2 separate regions of the Homo sapiens genome follow, and region 2 is linked to region 1. The links are contacts of gene promoters, found by promoter capture Hi-C in human tissues and cell types (Jung and others, 2019). All regions are on one chromosome and are shown on one strand. The core of a region is centred on a gene start or on the middle of the fragment in contact, and the rest is flanking DNA. Distances in the headings are between cores, read along the strand shown. Region 1 holds the start of CCL17 (C-C motif chemokine ligand 17). Region 2 overlaps ADGRG1 (adhesion G protein-coupled receptor G1).

Evidence for each region. The method cuts DNA at HindIII sites, captures the fragments that hold promoters and counts their contacts. A contact is called where the count stands out against the background at its distance.
Region 2: a fragment that was not itself captured here is called in contact with the fragment with the promoter of CCL17 in region 1 in 1 of the 25 tissues and cell types used here (spleen).

What each region holds. Positions count from the first base shown.
Region 1 is chr16:57,403,362-57,406,207 of GRCh38, forward strand. CCL17 (C-C motif chemokine ligand 17) reads left to right here and starts at 1,406. Exons shown (of 4, transcript NM_002987.3): 1 at 1,406-1,475. The HindIII fragment of the contact is 13,083 bases long and covers 1-2,846 here.
Region 2 is chr16:57,630,923-57,633,760 of GRCh38, forward strand. The region is part of intron 1 of ADGRG1 (adhesion G protein-coupled receptor G1); the gene reads left to right. Among named protein-coding and RNA genes, the nearest start is that of ADGRG1, 3.7 kb to the left of the region's middle. RefSeq lists an enhancer at 169-824. The HindIII fragment of the contact is 6,695 bases long and covers 1-2,838 here.

The sequences.
Region 1 (2,846 bases), core at 156-2,655:
ATTATAATATATATAACATATATTATATATAATATATATATTATAATATATATATTATATTATAATATATATTATAATATATATATTATATTATAATATATATTATATTATATATATTATATAATAATATATATATTATAATATATATATTATATTATATATATGTTATATATATTATAAATATATATTTTATATATATATAATATATATTTATAATATATATAATATATATTTATAATATATATAATATATATTTATAATATATATTATATATATTATAAATATATATAATATATATATATATATATTTTTTGAGATAGAGTCTTGCTCTGTTGCCCAGGCTGGAGTGTAGTGGTGTGATCTTGGCTCACTGCAACCTCTGCCTCCTGGGTTCAAGTGATTCTCCTGCCTCAGCCTCCCAAGTACCTGGGACTACAGGCACCTGCCACCACGCTCAGCTGATTTTTGTATTTTTAGTAGAGATGGGATTTCACCATGTTGGCCAGGCTGGTCTCGAACCCCTGACTTCAAGTGATCCACCTGCCTCGGCCTCCCAAAGTGCTGGGATTACAGGCGTGAGCCACCACGCCCGGCCTAAAAAAGTTTGAAAAAGGTGAAGGAGTGAGTCCTGCAGGTATCTGGGGACAACATTCCAGGCTGAAAGAACAGTCCGTGCAAACCTCCTCAGGAAGGAGCATGTCTGTCTGGTTGGTTTGAGGCATAGGGAGGAGGCCAGGGTGGCTGGGGCAGAGTGAACCAGGGAACCAGGAGATACAGGTGGGCAGAGAGCAGGGCACAGAACTCGCGGGGCCTCGTGGCTGCTGGAGGGTCTTGGACTTGTCCTCTGCGTGAGGTGGAGAGCCACGGGGACGTTCTGAACACGGGAGATTCATGGTCCCTCTGCTGCTGTGCTGAGAATACACTGTAGGGGGCAAGGATGGAGACAGGGAGAGCACCCAGAAGGCAGTTGTAGGAAGCCAGGGATTGATGCTGGTTTCTGGGTGTATTTGGAAAGCAGAGACATGAGCTCACCCAACAGATGGGAAGTTGGGGGCGAGAGGAAGAGGCGTCAGGGATAGCGCCCAGGTTTCTGGCCCTAGTAACCGGAAGGAAGGGGCTGGCAGAGAAGGAGGAGAGAGCAGGTGTAGGGGTGGGTGGGAATCAGAAATTCAGCTTCAGACTTGGGGGGTTGGAGCTGCCTATTTGGTATGGCGAGTAGGCAGCTGGACGTAGAAGGAGGCTGGAGTTTGCGAGAGAAACTTGGGAGTGGTTGGCATATAGATGATATTTAAAGTCAGAAACGTGTACTATTTGCCAGATATAAGCAGTAAGGCAGTTGATGCAAACCAAAGCCTTCTAATGTAATTATTGTTATTATTTTCATTTTGCAGCTGTAGAAACTGAGGCTCAGAGAGAAGTGACTTTGAGCTCACAGTGTCACCGCCTGCTGATGGGAGAGCTGAATTCAAAACCAGGTGACCTGACCTAGAGTCTTTGCTCCTAACCCCTCCACTGTGAGGTGACCCCCTCGCTGGATCTTTCAGGGCATGTGTTAGATGAGCGGTGGATGGACTTTGGATCAAGGGAAGATAATCCATACAAGAAGGGGACAGGAGTTTGGAAGCAGCAAACCAAGTCACAAAGTGAGGGGACGCACTGGCCCTCAAGAAAGCTCAATGTTGGGGAGCAGGGAGATGAGACTGAATAGGAAGGAGGGGCTAGATGGAAGGTACAGCTTCAAGATTGGCCTGAAAAGTTTTGACTGGATGGGGAAGGAAGCAGGGAGCCATTGACGGTTTTGGAGGAAGGGGGCATTACATGGTCAGGGCAGCCCTTGTGAAAGATCCACCACATGTGGGCATGCAGCTGATGAGGGAGGTGTCAGGAGAGACCAGAGAGGAAGAAATAGGCCCAGAAGTTTTTGAGACTCTCTGGGTGTGAAGGATGAGGGCTGAGCCAGTGGAGATGAGAAGGAAGCAAGGAAGCCAAGCTCCCACTGAAGACAGCGCTGGGCAGAGTCTCTGCCTGATGTAATGTGGGGGATGGAGGCGAGGAATGAGTCAAGGGCAAAGTTTCAGACTTGGGGGCAGATGGGGAGATGGGAAACAATGCTGGCTTGAACAGAAAAAAAGGAGGCTGGTGTGAGAGGGAACTCGGTTTTGCCCTTCTGGTACCTGGGGCTGAGTGAACCATAGCAGGACAGACTTCTGCTTCCCAGCAGCTCACAGGTTAGTGTGGGGGACAGAACTGCACAGAGCTGGCCAGGCTGCAAGGCAGAGAGAGCTGAGGGGTGCCACAGAAAGATGGGCCGGAAGGAGGAGTGTCCAGGTGGGTGTGTCTGATTAGTTACTGGTCAGGGCTGGAGACAGAGATTTAAGAAGTATTTATCAGGCCAGGTGCGGTGGCTCACGCCTGTAATCCCAGCACTTTGGGAGGCCGAGGCAGGTGGATCACGAGATCAGGAGATCGAGACCATCCTGGCTAACACGGTGAAACCCCGTCTCTACTAAAAATACAAAAAAAAAAAAAAATTAGCCGGGCATGGTGGCGGGCGCCTGTAGTCCCAGCTACTTGGGAGGCTGAGGCAGGAGAATGGCGTGAACCCGGGAGGTGGAGCTTGCAGTAAGCCGAGATAGCGCTGCTGCAGTCCAGCCTGGGCGAAAGAGCAAGACTCCGTCTCAAAAAAAAAAAAGAAGTCTTTATCCAGAGGTAAAAGATCTGGGGTAGATGATGTCAGGGAGGAAGGGAAGGTTGCTTGAGGCAAAAACAAAGTCTAGGACAGAAGCCCAGGCTTGCTCCTGCCACCAGCTAGCTCTGTGCCCATGAAGCAGATTTATTTTGTTGTT
Region 2 (2,838 bases), core at 155-2,654, 230 kb after region 1:
TTTCATGGGACTTGATGAGCCAGGCCAGCAGGTCTCAATCTGCTCTGTGGGGGGGAAGAGAGGCAGGAGGACTCGCCAGGCAGGTGCTGTGTGGGGCTGGGGGCCCAGGCTGCAAACCCAGCAGGACGGGGAGGGCCAGGATGGGTGTTCAGTGTGAGGTTGGCCAGGCAGTCCCAGTCTCTGGCTGCTGGGTTAAGGCTCAAGCTTGGGAGCAGCTTCACGTGTGAGGGAGACGAGGGGGAGGTGGCGCCCAGTCGAGGGGAAGGACAGGAGAGAGGTGGCAGAGCTGCAGCAGGGTTGGTGTAGGGGTTGGCCTCCTGGCAAGGCCCAGCATGACAAAGGCAGGTAAGAGGAGTGGGCAGGACAGCCATGGAGGGACCACTGCGGACCGTCCTCCAGCCGGACTGGGATGCGGGTTCCGCCATCCTGTGCAGAAGCTGTGTGCAGGTGGGGTCTGGGGGGCTGTGCCATTTCAGGGATGCAGGATGGGCTTCCATGTGGCAGGGCTCCCAGGGAGGCCATGGAGGAGGCCGTGGGGAAGTCGGGTGGAAGTAGGGAGGAGAGGGGAGTGTGACAACAGAGCCCCAAACCCCAGCACCACCTCCTCCTCCCAGACTGGAGCTTGATCAGGGCTCAGCCCCCGTCCCCATGCTGGGGGTGGCCCTGTGGACCCCGCCTTCTGACTCACAGCAGATGGGGACATCATGTGAGCAAACCCAGCAGTCAGGGGTGACCAGACACAGCAACTGGGCAGATGGCAAATGGGGGGCGGGGCGGGCTGGCACAAAGGGGTCTCTCAAACCGGGTGGGGCGGGGCTGTGGCACGGCCTCAGCCTCCCAGGCCTCCTTTCTCCTGAGCCGTCACTTGGCTGAGACCCTGCCCCTCCTCCTGTCTCTGGTGCCCCATCTGGGGCTCCTTGAGGCCCCCAGGGGAGCCCTGTAGATTCTGGTCTTAGGTCTGGACTGCTGGGTAGAGGGGCCAAGGGTTGGGGAGTAGGAAGGGACACACATTTTCTGACCACTGCCCAGTGCCAGCCTGCCCTGGCAGGAGGTCAGCTAAGCCCCAAACTCTCCCTGGTTCCCTGATGGCTCAGCCTGGATGGGAGCAATCCTGGACCTTCCCTGACCTCAGATTCTGCCAGGCCCTGGGCTCAGTGCCTTGCACACGACACCCACTTTTCAGATGAGGACATTGAGGCAGGGGAGGCTTACCCAGTGAGCAACCCCACATCTTTGGGGATCCAGAATTTGGGCTCTTGTCCCTTGGTGGAGAGGAGGCTCCTCAGCCAGCCAGGCACATGCTCGTGTCTTGAACCCTGCCCCTGCCACTGCCAAATCCACGCACCTGTAGGGTGACAGGGCCCGTAGAGACAGCAAGGGTGGCTTGCCCAGGGAGAATCTTGGCTTTGTTTCTCTCTGGTTGTGGGAACATGGGCCTGTGCCTCGGTTTCCTCATCTGTAAACTGTGGATCACAATCACATCTGCTTCAGAGGCTATTATGAGCATGAAGAGAGTTGATAGAGGAAAGCATATGGGAAAGTGCCTTTCCCATACGTGGGAATGTTAAGCCTTTTTTTAATACCTCTCCCATTGGACAGATGGCTGTATTGAGGCCCAGAGATAACCTGAAATAACTGTGAGCACTTCTCCCTGCCCCCGCTACTGCTGGGAGAGCTGCGGCCACCTGGACACCAGTGGCGCTCACTCACCCACCTCCAGCCTGACTCGTGCTTTGGTGAGGAGGCCAGTGTGGTGGGCGTCGGGCTCCCGAGCTGGCGCCTGCGCAGGCTCAGGCAGTTTGTGGTATGCTTGGCAGTTCCAGGCAGAGATAAAAGCTCAGCCCCGGAGGAGCTGGCATGCTTCCGGGCACCGGTGGACAGGCCTCTCTGCATTAGTGGGAGATGGCCTGGCGGTGGGGAGATGGCCTTGCTGTCCAAGAGCCAGCCCAACCCTGGTGGCCTGAAAAGTTCTGCGGTGAATGGCTCTGGCTTGGCTTCCCAGACTCGGGGCCACTTACACCAACTGCAAAACAAGGAACAGTGAGATAGAGAGCCGCCTCTGCCACCTCCCAGGCCCTTTCCCCTCCCGTCCCCAGGTCTCTGTCCTCCTAGTACCCCCAGCCTGGATGCTCAAGGCCCATGGGGGAAAGCTGACTTTTGAGAGGAGCTGTGGAGACTTGCATTCCACTGCCAAAGATGACAGCTTCTCTGGACCCGTTTCCCTGCCTGTAAATGGAGATAACAATACATCCCTTTGCAGGGTTGCTGTGGAATTTGGGGCAAAAGTGGCTGCAAAGTATGTACCTAGCACAGTGCATGACTTCAAGAGGTTCTCCCTAAACCTCAGCTGGAGGTTTAATCTTCCAGGTCATGGGCTCATTGACTTAGGCTCAAATCCTTGAAAAATGACTTAGAGCAAGCGGCTGAATTTCTCACAACTTCATTACTTGGGCTGTGAAAGTCTCTGATACCTAAATGCGGCTTTGTGGGGATGAACCGAGACAGCCACACGTCATAGGGGCTCATGAGACGCAGACCCTGTCCCCAGCTGTCCCAGACCTTTGCTTTTCCATCCCTCAGCCAGGCTGCCCCCTAGGAGAGGCAGCACGAGGTGGGCTGTTAGGGGTGTGGGCTCTGGGGCTGCCTGATTCTGTCCCAGCTCTACTGGCTGTGTGGCCTGGGACAGGTATATTAACCTCTCTGTGCCTCGTCTTCCTAATTGTAAACATGAGGCTGGTAATGGCATCCTGAGAGGATTAAGTGAGCCTCTGTATTTTAAGTGCTGAGTGCAGGGCTGGGCACACCTCAAGTGCTATTGTAATTGCCCCTTCTGGGCCA